2 separate regions of the Homo sapiens genome follow, and region 1 is linked to region 2. Evidence: promoter capture Hi-C in 16 types of primary human blood cells and fetal thymus (Javierre and others, 2016). All regions are on one chromosome and are shown on one strand. Each heading gives the region's core, a stretch centred on a gene start or on the middle of the fragment in contact. The rest is flanking DNA. Distances are from core to core; before and after follow the strand shown. Region 1 overlaps CFAP54 (cilia and flagella associated protein 54). Region 2 holds the start of CDK17 (cyclin dependent kinase 17).

Evidence for each region. The method cuts DNA at HindIII sites, captures the fragments that hold promoters and counts their contacts. A CHiCAGO score of 5 or more calls a contact.
Region 1: a fragment that was not itself captured here is called in contact with the fragment with the promoter of CDK17 in region 2 in 4 of 17 cell types (neutrophils, total CD8 T cells, endothelial precursors and 1 more); the score reaches 9.2 in neutrophils.

The regions. Positions count from the first base shown.
Region 1 is chr12:96,525,739-96,532,351 of GRCh38, reverse strand. It overlaps CFAP54 (cilia and flagella associated protein 54), which reads right to left. Exons shown (of 68, transcript NM_001306084.2): 9 at 4,908-5,106. Among named protein-coding and RNA genes, the nearest start is that of CFAP54, 39 kb to the right of the region's middle. The HindIII fragment of the contact is 2,750 bases long and covers 743-3,492 here.
Region 2 is chr12:96,397,871-96,404,155 of GRCh38, reverse strand. CDK17 (cyclin dependent kinase 17) reads left to right here and starts at 3,717. Exons shown (of 17, transcript NM_002595.5): 1 at 3,717-4,170. RefSeq lists silencers at 1-60, 3,374-3,703, 3,794-3,973, 4,154-4,313 and an enhancer at 2,734-2,953. The HindIII fragment of the contact is 3,343 bases long and covers 2,330-5,672 here.

The DNA.
Region 1 (6,613 bases), core at 868-3,367, 130 kb before region 2:
CACACTAAACTCACCTAAAGGCATAGGAGCTAACCCTAGGCTTTTCTCCCTCCTCTCAGGTGGACACTAAGGCCAAGTCAGCTAATTGTTCCAAGAAGGAAAGCTCATGGGAAAAGAAAATTAAAAGCAAAAACATCTTGAAAGAAAAACCACAAATGAAGCATCCTTTACCACAAGAAGCAAGAAAATGGAAAAGCACAAACAAGAATTTAAGTGAAAGTGTTCTCTCAGAAAAATAAAAGAGGATATTAGAAACATAAGGCAAGAACAACTGCTGTGAAAAAAGAACCAAGTGGATTCAATGTATAAAGTACATCATCATTGATGGCCGGGTGCGATGGCTTATGCCTGTAATCCCAGCACCTTGGGAGGCCAAGGCAGGCAGATCACCTGGGGTCAGGAGTTTGAGACCAGCCTGGCCAACATGGTGGAACCCCATCTCTACTAAAAATACAAAAAATTGGCCCGGCGTGGTGGTGCACACCTGTAGTCCCAACTACTCGGGAGGCTGAGGCAGGAGAATCGTTTGAACCCAGGAGGCAGAGGCTGCAGTGAGCTGAGATCGTGCCACTGCACTCCAGCCCAGGCAACAGAGCAAGACTCTGTCTCAAACAAACAAACAACAAAAATAACAAAAAAGTATATCATTGTTGAAACAAATAATTAAATAGGTAAACAGAAGAGTAGAACAGAGAGAATCAAAGATGAAATTCGTGACCTGAAAAATCAGATAGAGGAAGCTTCCCAGAATGCAACAGAATAAAGACATGAAAAGAATAAAATAAATAAGACATGGAGGATGAACATCTATCCTGTTAACATCTGTCTAATGGCATCTTCAATGCCTTGAAGGATTTTTTTTTTAAATAATGAATATAAGGAAAGAAATTTAAAAGTAACATGAAAAAATGAAAGAAAGATATGACCTCAAAGTATCTGCTGCATTACTAAACCCACCCCTAGATCCAGTAGAATAAAATGTAAGAATGTCATAAGAAAGAGAAAATTGTAAAAGATACATCTATAAAACAACAAGATTTAAACTGACATTACACTTCTCAACAGAAACACTATATATACAAGATTATAAAAAAGAGCATCAAAATCTTAAAGAAACTTGTAAGTAAACTATTATATCCAGCCAAACTACTTCAAAATTCTTAGAGTTTGTATTTCAGCAAAAAGAAATGAATTTAGAAAGAAGCAATGAAAAATGGGAAGTAATGATGAGGAGAAAAAAATCTTAATAAAGGTATTTTCTGTCTTAAAAAGCAATGACCAGGACTTGTATTCAGAACATAAAAAGAGCTCTCAAAACTCAAGAGAAATAATTAACAATCCAATTAGAAAGTGAACAAAAGACACTAGAGAAAAAGAGAGTATACAGATGGGAAATAAACACATGAAAAACTGTTTAACATCTTTAGCCATTAGGGAAATGCAAATTAAAGTCACAGTGGGATATTACTACACACCTATCAGAATGGCTAAAATAAAAAAGTAATGATACACCAAATTCTGTCAAGGATGTCCAGAAACTGGATCATTTACACATTGCTGGTGGAAATATAGTAGAGTCACCCTGGAGAATAGTATGACAGGTTCTCACAAAACTAAATATGAACTTATCATATATCCAATCCAGCAATTGCACTGTTGAGCATTTTATTCCAGAGAAATGAAAACTTACCTTCACACAAAAACTTGTACTCAACTGTTCATAGCAGCTTTATTTCTAGTAGCCAAAAACTGGAAATAATTCAAATGTCCTTCAAAGGGTAAGTGGTTAAACAAACTGTGGTGTATCCATACCATAAAATAATACTCAGCAGTAACAAGTGAAAAAAAATTTTTTTTGAGACAGAGTCTTGTTCTGTCCCCAGGCTGGAGTGCAGTGGTGGTGGTGTGATCTCCATTCACTGCAACCTCTGACTCCTGGATTCAAATGATTCTTTTGCCTCAGCCTCCCAAGTAGCTGGGACTACAGGCACATGCCATGACGCCTGGCTAATTCTTGTATTTTTAGTAGAGACAGAGTTTCGCCATGTTAGCCAGGCTGGTCTTGAACTCCTGGGCTCAAGGGATCAGCTCGTCTTGGCCTCCCAAAGGGCTGGGGTTACAGGCATGAGCCATGGTACCCCGCCAAGTGAACTATTAATACACACAACCTGGATACATCTCAAGAGAATTATGCTGAGTGAAAAAACAGACAACACACATACGGCCACCTAATTTATGACTAAGGGATACTGCAGCCAACTAAAGGAAGTTATCTTCAATAAATGGTGCTGTGTCAACTGAATATACATATAGAAGTATATAAATCTTGATTTCTACTTCGTATAAACAAAAAAGATCTAATTTCTAATTATAGACCTCATAAACTTAAGGAAGAAACAATAAAACTTATGGAAGAAAACATACGAGAATATATTTACGACATTGGGGTAGCTGAAACTTCTTAACCACAACACACAAAGGATCAACTATATAGGATATATTGATAAATTGGACTATATTAAAATTAAGAATTTCTGTTCCCCAATGGATATCATTAAGAGAATGAAAAGGCAAGCCATCAAGTAAGAAATGATATTTGCAATACATGTATTCAATAAAGGAATTATATCCAGAATAGATAAAGAATTCCTATGAATCGACAGAAAAAAGGACAAAAGGTTAAAATAGGCACCTCACAAAATAGGATATCCAATAGTGAAAAAAGTATATGAAAAAGTGTTTAACTTTATTAGTCATCAGAGAAATTTAAGTTTATACTGCAACACCACTGAATTCACACCAAAATGGACAAAATGAGAAAGACAGATAATACTAAGTGTCAGAGAAAATTTGGAGTAATGGAACCCTGATAAAATGTTGATGGGTGTGCAAACTAAAAAAAACCACTTTGTAAAACAGTATCCAATGAAGCAACATGGGAATATCCCATGCTCTTGCAATTCCACACCAACAGAAATGCATAGCAGATGTTTAACATATTTCTCTGAGTAATTCATAAAATAAAAAGACAAAAACTATCAGTAGGGATAGAGAAGATCTAACCACATGATTTACTAGCTTAACTTAATCAACATATATATAAAGCAATGCATCCAACAACAACAAAAAATACATAGTCTTTCAAGTACACACAGACTATTTACCAAAGCTGGTCATGTGCTAGGCCATAAAGCCTATCTTAACAAATGTTCACAGTTCCAAATAATACATAATGTGCTCTCTGACCATAGTATAATTAACATAGAAATCAGTAACCAAAAGATAATTAGAAAATCTCCCATATTTTGGTTCAGAACCCATATATCAAAGAATAAATCACACTGCGTATTAGAAAATATTCTTACTCCAATAGTAATAAAGATATGATATATCAAAACTTCAGATACATAGCTAAAGCTGAATTTAGAACAAATGTCTTAATATGCATTTAATGTAAATAATAACAAATCCTAAAAATCAATGATCTAAGCTTCCAAGTCAATAAGTTTTTTAAATCAGTAAAGCAAACCCAAGAAAGTATAATAAAGGAAGTAATGAAGAGCAAAAATCAATAATATGGAAAATGGACATACAATAGGGAAGATCAACAAGGTCAAATATTGTTTCTTTGCAAAGACTAATGAAACTGGTGGACCCCTGGTGAAATTGATGAAATAAGAGAGAAAGCAAACTGACCAATACTGAAAAGAAAATCTGAAAAATTTTATATCTATGGAGGAAATTGAATTCATCATTTAAAATATTGCCATACAAAAAATTCCAGGTACAGATGGCTGCACCAGAAAATTCAACTAAACATGTAGGAAGAAATAACACCAATATGACACAAACATTTACAGATAATGGAGAAAGAGGGCATACTTCTCAACTCATTTTATGAGGCTAATATGACCTTGTGAGCGAAACCTAAAAATAACATTACAAGAAAGAAAAGTCTCTCCCTTCAACAGAGAAGCAGAAATAAGCAATCCATAAAATCAACCACATTAATAGAAATAAATGAGAAAGCCATTTGATCGACTCAGTAAATCTCAATAAATTCAGAGAAAGCTTTTGCTAAAATTAAACTATTCAAGATTAAAAACAACAACAAAAAAAAACACTTAGCAAACCAGGAATACAAGAAACATCTGTGATCTGCAAAAGGGTATCTATAAAAATTATTCTGTAGATATCTCAAATAATGGCAAAATGTTGAAAGCTTTCCAACTGAGGAAAAAAATGAGACAAAGGAGTCTGCTATCACCACTTCTTCCCATGTGTTATTGGAGATCCTAGCCAGTGCAACCATCAAGAAATGCAAGAAAAGAGAAATTAAAAGATTAAGGATTGGACAGAAATAAGTCATTCATAGATGACTGTATATACAAAACAAGTCCCCCCAAAAATCTACTAATACATTATTTGAAATATCAATTGACCTTAGCAAGGTTTCTGAATTCAAGATCAATATAAATTATATCAGCTTGGCACAGTGGCTCACACCTGTAATTCCAGCACTTTAGGAGGCTGAGATGGGTGGACTGCTTGTCCCAGGAGGTCGAGACCAGACTGGGAAACACGGTGAGACCCCGTCTCTACAAAAAATACAAAAATTAGCCAGGTGTGGTGGCATGCACCTGTAGTCCCAGCTACTTGGGAGGCTAAGAAGGGAGGATCACTTGAGCCCAGGAAGTTGATGCTGCAATGTGAGCCATGATCACGCCACTGCACTCCAGTCTGGGTGACAAAGAGAGACCTTATCTCAAAAACAAACAAACAACCAAACAAAAAAAAAAAAACAATATAAATGTTATCAGTTTCCTATGTATGGACTACCATGTTAAAATTTTTGTTACTCATGTGTATCATTCTATCATAAAACAATATCTTAACATCTTATTTACTTATCAAAAGTTCTTTTCCTGCCATAAACAATTCTGAGACAACATCATGAATCTCCACTTCATCTGTAACAATGGGTCCAGTTTGCAGTATTCGCCTATTTGAATCAGAAAGAGCTTCCAAGACAGCCAGAAACTGGGATGCAGTGCTATCAAACATCTCATCCAGTAGCCGCTCTGTGACAGTTCGTGGCCATGATAACTGAAATTGAGAAAAAAAAAAGTTCAGTCCATTTGTTAAAGCTATTATATTGTGGGCGCAGTGGCTCATGCCTATAATCCCAACACTTTGGGAGGCCAAGGCAGGAGGATTGCTTGACCCAAGGAGTTCAAGACCACCTGGGCAACACAGTGAGACCCCCATTTCAACAAAAAAATTTCAGAATTGGCCAGGCATGTTGGAATGTGCTTGTAGTCCCAGCTACTTGGGAGGCTGAGGTGGGAGGATCACCTGAGCCCAGGGAGGTAGAGGCTGCAGCAAGCTAAGGTCATGCCACTGCACTCCAGCCTGGGTGACAGAGTGAGACCCTGTCTCAGGCAAAAAAAAAAAAAAAAAAAAAAACCTGTTATAAGGCAAAGAAAAGTAAGGCATGCTTACAATGCTAAAACAGAGAGCAGTTGGTCTAACAATTAGATACCTGCTTTTATGGTTTTTTGAGATGTCACTCCAGATTTCATTAGAGATATCATGCTGCCATTACATCAAAGACTTTGTTGTTTCTTCATATGCTTGTGTTTCCAAGGCAGCATTAAAAGGTTGTTTATTATGGTTTGCTTATTAAGCAAGCATATATCTCCATATGCTTTATAGTATCTTCATTATAGCCTTCGGAACTGATATTCAAACTTTGGTTACCTAAGAATCACTCAGGGGTGCTTTGTAGATTCAAGACCAAATTTCCAGAGATTTTGTGTGTCTGGACACTTTTAATAAGTGTTTAGGACACTTTTAATAAGCACCACAGGATATTCTCATGCAGAAGGTCTTCAAGCCAAAATTTGAAACAGTATTTAGTAGTATAAATAACAAGGTTTGTGGTAATTAACTCTAAGAAAGAATTGATCAGCTTTATGCTAACAGGCTAGTGACTGTTTAGAACCTGCTGTGGGTTCCCAGTCATTCTGCTTTGTACTGGCCCAAAATGACTGCACTTCCTGCACATGCTTCCTGCCACACTTCATTCTTCTCTCCATCAAATGACCTGTTCTCTGCATTTAGTTTGCCAGTAAATAAGAACCGTAGTTTTAGTAGGCTTTTCTAGAATCCTTATCCAGCTGGAAGATTTCCTCATAATTCCCTTGCTTTTATTTCTCTTCTTAGGGCAAAGTCAGAAAGACAGAAAAACAAAAGCAGGGATAAAGTTGCCTTGAACTACTTTCCCGCAAGCACTAGCTTCCCTACTCATAAGCTTGTGTACCTTTTCAATCCATAGATCAACTGACATGTTAAAAATTTCAACAAGGGGCTGGGTGCGGCGGCTCACGCCTGTAATCCCAGCACTTTGGGAGGCCGGGTGGATCACAAGGTCAGGAGTTCGAGACCAGCCTGGCCAATATGGTGAAACCTCATCTCTACTAAAAATACACAAATTAGCCAGGCATGGTGGCGCGCGCCTGTAGTCCCAGTTACTTGGGAGGCTGAGGCAGAATAATCGCTTGAACCCAGGAGGCAGAGGTTGCAGTGAGCCAAGATCATGCCATTGCACTAC
Region 2 (6,285 bases), core at 2,468-4,967:
CAGTTGGTCTGGAGCGGGAACTGAGAATTTGCATTTCTAAGAAATTCCCAGGTAACACTGCTGAGAACCACTGATGTAGAGCAATTGAAAACCAGCTTAAGTGTTTCTTGTTTGTATCTTACCTGAAAGTTTCATATTTGTTTCCCAGACAGTGTCATTTTCAGAATGTGAATCCCAGCAAAGATTTTCTGGACTTACCACATTTAACTCTCTTTGTCCAAAGTTCAATGACCTTCAAAATTTTCTCCCCTCAATATTTTTATATATGTCACATGATATAGCTATTCTATGGTGAAAACATTTTGGGATATACTTGTTTCACTGGAAAGAAGATTATTTTTCAATCTCAGAACTTCTAAGAGCCTTAAATACGTAAATGTATATTGTGAATTTCCAAAAGGGAGATAAAGTATGTGGCATTCCTCAAGTGGATTTGATCTTGGAATTCTTCCTCAATCTTTCTCCTCCACTAAGCACTATGGAATATCTATTAATGACAGTTAGGGAAATATTCTAAGTAATTTTATAATTTAACATAGTTTTACAAGGTAAAAAAAAAAGCCTATATTACAACCTACGGAAAAAACAACTAACATGCTCACAATATTACATATAATTTTTTTTTTTTTTTTTCAGACAGAGTCTTGCTCTGTCACCCAAGCTGGAGTGCAGTGGTGTGATCTCAGCTCACTACAACCTCCACTTCCTGGGTTCAAGCGATTCTCCTGCCTCAGCCTCCTGGGTAGCTAGGATTACAGGCTCCTGCCACCACGCCTGGGTAATTTTTGTATTTTTAGTAGAGATGGGGTTTTGTTATTTTGGCCAACCTGGTCTCGAACTCATGAGCTCAAGTGATCCACCTGCCTCGATCTCCCAAAGTGCTGGGATTACCGGTGTGAGCTACCGCGCCTGGCCAAATTTTAAATCGGTTTAGAAAAGTAATTAAATAGGCCATGGGGCTGGGTGCTGTGGCTCACCCAGCACTTTGGATCACTAGAGCTCATGAGTTCGAGACCAGCCTGGCCAACATGTCCAAACCCCGCCTCTACTAAAAATACAAAAATTAGCCGGGCGTGGTGATGGGCACCTGTAATCTCAGCTATTCAAGAGGCTGAGGCAGGAGAATTGCTTGAACCCAGGAGATGGAGATTGCAGTGAGTTGAGATGATGCCACTGCACTCCAGCCTGGGTGACAGAGCAAGACTCCCTCTAAAAATAAATAAATAAACAGATAAATAAATAGGCCAGGGGTGGTGGCTCCTGTTTGTAGTCTCAGCACTTTGGGAGGCCGAGGTTGGAGGATTGCTTGATGTCAGGAGTTAATACCAGCCTGGGCTGTCGGCATAGTGAGACTCCATCTCATTTAAATAAATAAATAAATAAATAAATATGAAAAGTAATGAAATAAATATTGTGCAATCTGTAATTTTTTTTTTCATTGAAAGAACAAATCCTCCAGGCACGGTGGCTCACGCCTGTAATCCCAGCATTTTGGGAGGCCGAGGAGGGTGAATCATCTGAGGTCAGGAGTTTGAGACCAGCCTGGCCAACAGGGTGAAACCCTGTCTGTACTAAAAATGCAAAAAATTAGCCGGGCGTGGTGGCGGATGCCTGTAATCCCAGCTACTTGGGAGGCTGAGGCAGGAGAATCGCTTGAACCTGGGAGGCGGATGTTGTAGTCAGCTGAGACCACGCAACTGCACTCCAGCCTGGGCAACAAGAGCAAAATTCTGTCTTAAAAAAAAAAAAGAAATAACAAACCAATCAATCAAATAATCACCTAAGTTTTCATTATGAATTCGTCTTTTTTTTTTCTTTTTGAGACGGTGTCTCACTCTGTCACCCAGGTTGGCGTGCAGTGGCAGAATCTCAGCTCACCGCAAACTCCGCCTCCCAGGCTTAATGGATCCTCCCACCTCAGCCTCCCAATTACGAATTCTTTGTTATGCTAATGAAAGATGTAGAAAGAGGAGAGGGTGCTTTGGATGAGACAGAATAATCTTTTTATTTCTCATGGAGTAATGTTAATCTAATGATATGAAGGTATAAGTATTAATGCTGAAACTCAGAATGCCATTTCATAGACTCCCTTTTTTGGTGATTTTTTGATATTTACTAAAGTACTAATTTAGATGAGGCAAGTATATGAAAATCCTTTCATATAAATAGGCCTTGTATAAATATCAGTGTTTCTCTTTAACTTAAAAAGAACTCTGAAAATGATGCTACATCTTGCTATATTATAAAGTTCCAAGTTTGACTTGGACAAATCTAAAAAGCCTCATTAACAGTGCTTTTAAACAAAGCGCACTTGTTCTAACGGAAAGCTTGTTATGTATATTTGCATTCTTGGTTGGTAAACAAGTGTTAAATACGCGTAGAGCATAATTGTTGCTAATTTACGGGTCCTGGTAATTTTAGAGGCATGGGAAAAGCCTGATTGACACGTACGATCGTTGGATATAACTGTAGATGCATTTAACTTTGCCAAACAAAATAAGAGAAAGATGTCAGCATGCAGCATTTTTAAGGGGGAAAGGATTCATCCCTAAATCCAAAAAGATAATTCCCCGAAGTTCTTAGCACATAATGTGATTTGAAACTTCAAAGCAGCTTCTACTTCCGGGTGTTAACATGGGAAAAAAAATTTATCTCACTTCACAGGACTTTTATGTGGGTTTTTTTTTCTTGTTTATGTTGTCTACATCCGGTCCCTACTCTCTTCTTTCAATCCTCTCATTATCTCCCTCTAGGGGTTTAAGTTTGTTTTAACTTTATGCTTTTATCCTTATTAGTGGAAAAAAGTGGGTCAGTATTACTTTAGTTTGTCTTCACTGCCACTCTGCTGTTCATTCCTGAACTAGCTTTTAGCCTCTGGGAAAGGAGAAAGTAAAAACAGTTGCAGAAACTGGGCCAACCTCTCGCGGCCCGCCTCCCCCAAGAAAACAAAACCTAACCCGTGCAACAGTAGTCCTTTCTGTTTTCATAGCACCTTGTATTTCTCCGCTCATAACGTTCAGATTTTTATGATAGTTATTGATCATCTTTCATCCCAGCTAGACTCTCCGTCCTTAGAGGACTCAGCATATTGCCGGGCACATGATAATATATACAAAACACTGTACTGTAGTTTAAATGAATAGATGCCGTGTGTGTGAGAGACTGCGGCACTAGTACCCACGTACCCACACACAACAAAGGAGAAAAGTTGCAGCCATCAACATCTTTCAGTGTGGGTCCTTTGACATGGACTCTCTAGAAAGTCAGTGGAGAACTGTGGCATGGACACCTTGTACAGTAATTACTTGTATAACTGAAGCACGAGTTTTGGTTTGGTAGCGGGAAGTTGAGGGGCAGGGGGATGTTGGAGGGGCTGAATTATTCACATAATTTCTCCCCCAGTCGCTGCGGACAGGCACTCATTCCGGTGGGGTCCCCTGGCCCCCTCCGCCGCTCCCCCGACGCCCGCATTTCGGAGCGGGCAGTTTCCCGGGGACACCCGCCCCGCCCTGCAGGCCCCGCCCCCGGCCGCCGGCCCCGCCCCCGCCTCCGCCGCCGCCGGCAGGGGTCGCGCTGCCCCCGGCGAGCCGCTCAGGCGGGGGTGGGGTAAGCTCCCGCGGCCGGTCGCTTTTCTCCGCCGCCGCTGGTTGGATCGTTTCAATAAAAGTGTTTTTTCTCTTGCACTCGCTCTCCTCCGGGGAACAGGCGGAGGCGTCAATCCGCAGCCGCCGAGTGTGAAAGCGACGCACACGCAAGGAGCGAACGCGGCCGCCCGCAGTCTCCTGAGCTCCCCGCGGGCCGCCGCAGAGCCGCGGAGAAGGAGCCAGCGCCCGGCCAGACAGTCTCAGCCCGCCGTCGGCGCCCGCCGCGCTCGCGCCCGGCTGCTCCGAGGGGATTAGTGGGCCGTCCGCGCGGCTCGTCGGCGCGGGAGCCATGTTGACCGAGGGACTTGGCAACGCGTGAGACACCCGCGGCCCCTCCCGAGGCTCCGGACCCGCGGCGAGAGCCGGAAGGCGGCTGTGGCGGCGGAGGCCTGCGCTCGGAAGCGCCTCACGTCTGCCGGCCGCTGAGACCCGGACTTGCATCCGGTCGCCGCGGGCGTCCGCGGAGCAGCTTCCCCCCGCGCCTCTCTTCGCCTCGCCTCGGGACCCGCGGTCCCCGCTCTTGCTGGTGAGTTGGCGGCTGGCGTCCGCGCCGCGCTTTCCCCTGGTGTCGGGTCGGCCGCGGGGCCGGGAGGCTGCGTGGGACAGAGGCGGGGGCGGGGGCTACTGGGGGCGCGGGTGGCTCAGGCCCGGTCGGGAAGTTGAGCGAGGAGGCGCGGCGCGGGGGGCTAGCGTGCGCCTGTCACCTCTCCGGTCCAGCGAGGACCTTGGGTCGCCCGGGGATTTCCGGGGCTCGGGTGGGGTGTGAGTGTCTGCGAGCTGCTTCCCAGGAGGCGCCGACAGATATAGACGCCGCCGCCTCCGGTGCTCGCTGCCGCTTTGGTCTGCGGGGGAGGCCGGTCTCCTCGCGAGGCGGAGGAGGGGAAAGAGGCAGAAAGTCCCCCGAGACACAAAGGTCCCCTCGGCGGGGGTGGAGCTGGAGGCGCAGGCGACGCTGCCCGGGAGGGGAAGGAAGGGGCGCGGGTCCGCGGGAGGTGGGCGAGGAGGCGGCGGTCGCGGCGCCTGCAGCTCCTTGGAGACGCTGGCGCTGTGCGCGGGTGGGGAGCGCGGAGGAGGAGGAGGAGCCCGCGCGTGGGAGCGGGTAGAGACAAAGATCAGGGCAGCCTCCTGCTGGCGGGTCACACCCCGGAGTGTTGGTCAAGAGCGGAGGTAGAGGGAAGGTGGGAAACCCAGCAAACCGATGGGGAGGGGAAAATGGGGGGAGGAGGGTGCCTAGTGCTGTCTCCGTCGCAGTTGCTTTTCTCAGCATTTTTGTGCCCGATGCTATGCCCGATGCTTTTGCTCCCCAACTCAGCTGGATAGCTCCAGATTCCCTCCCTCCTGTCACCCCCACACTGCCACATTGACTCTCCTGTGGTTTTTCCCTCGTTCTCCCCCTACTTTTCACCCACTCCTTTTCGGGTAAGCAGTATTTTGCTTTCAGCTTGGGGAACATTTGTTAATGACAGGATGTCTGAGCTTGTTCTGACCCTGAACTGCCTTGAACTTCTCTCTCTTCCTCCCACCCTTTCCTTTTCTGGGATCTATAATGTCACATGGCCGTTAACAATTAGCTTTTCTTTTGCAAAAGTGGCAAAAAGCGTTTAGCTGAAATCTGTGGCTCTCGCCTCCTTTACATGAATATGTCCACCAAAGACACCTCGTTGGTCATGTTCTATCACCTCTTCGTCAAATTGACATCAGGTCCTAACAGGTCACTTTCAAGATACAGAAGAGGCAAATTTTGTTTTGAGACTTGGCCATTCCTAGGGTCAGCAAAGTGTATTCCTGGCAGCCAGACCTTCAGTCACTTATCAGGAAATGCTTGACCTAAAGACAGACAATTCTTTCCCCAAACTTTGCTGTTTCTTTTTTGAGTCTTTGTTGAAAGATTTCTTTTAAAAGGCGTTCGTGTGAGAAGATCACAGCAACAAATCTGGCTTGTTCTGTTTTAGACTTACTTTCTTAACTCTTGGGCAGAAGAAAATGAATGAGATTTGAAGACCTTTGATACCTTGGGTAGACAAAGCTTGCCTTGAAACTAGAAATAAGACGAAACTAGATTTTAAGGGGAAAAAATTTGCTAGTGGTAATATAATTGGTTTTGTTTCATTTTTTTATGAGTCTGAGGAGTTGACATTAAACGTTGGGATGTTGCTTTGTTAATGAAGTCATTTCAATTTTTGCAACTCTTAACATCTGCATGCTTCCATAAACAGTGGGTTGGAACAAAAGAAAATGTGACTAAGGGATATTCCTTAAATTCTTTTTTATGTTATGAGAGAGAATATTGGAATATAAAGAATGTTACTTTATCTGGTAAACCATCTCATAGGCCAGAAGCACTAACAGTTTGAATGGTTGGCTTAAAAAAAAACGGGAGTCTTTGAATTTAAGCTTATGTAAAATTACTATGCAAATATAGGTTATTATTTATTTTTACAGTGAAAATAAAACACTATTGAAGTATAAATGGAAAGAAAATAAAAGCAAAGCCTGTTTAATATAGAGACATTAATGTTGATATCACTGTACGAACAGTCATAGCTTGCTGCTCACTGCCGTTAAAGGGTTGACATACAAACATTGTGGAAGAGATTTCAGTTTGAGGGCTAGTGTCTGAATTATGGACTCCTTACCCTAC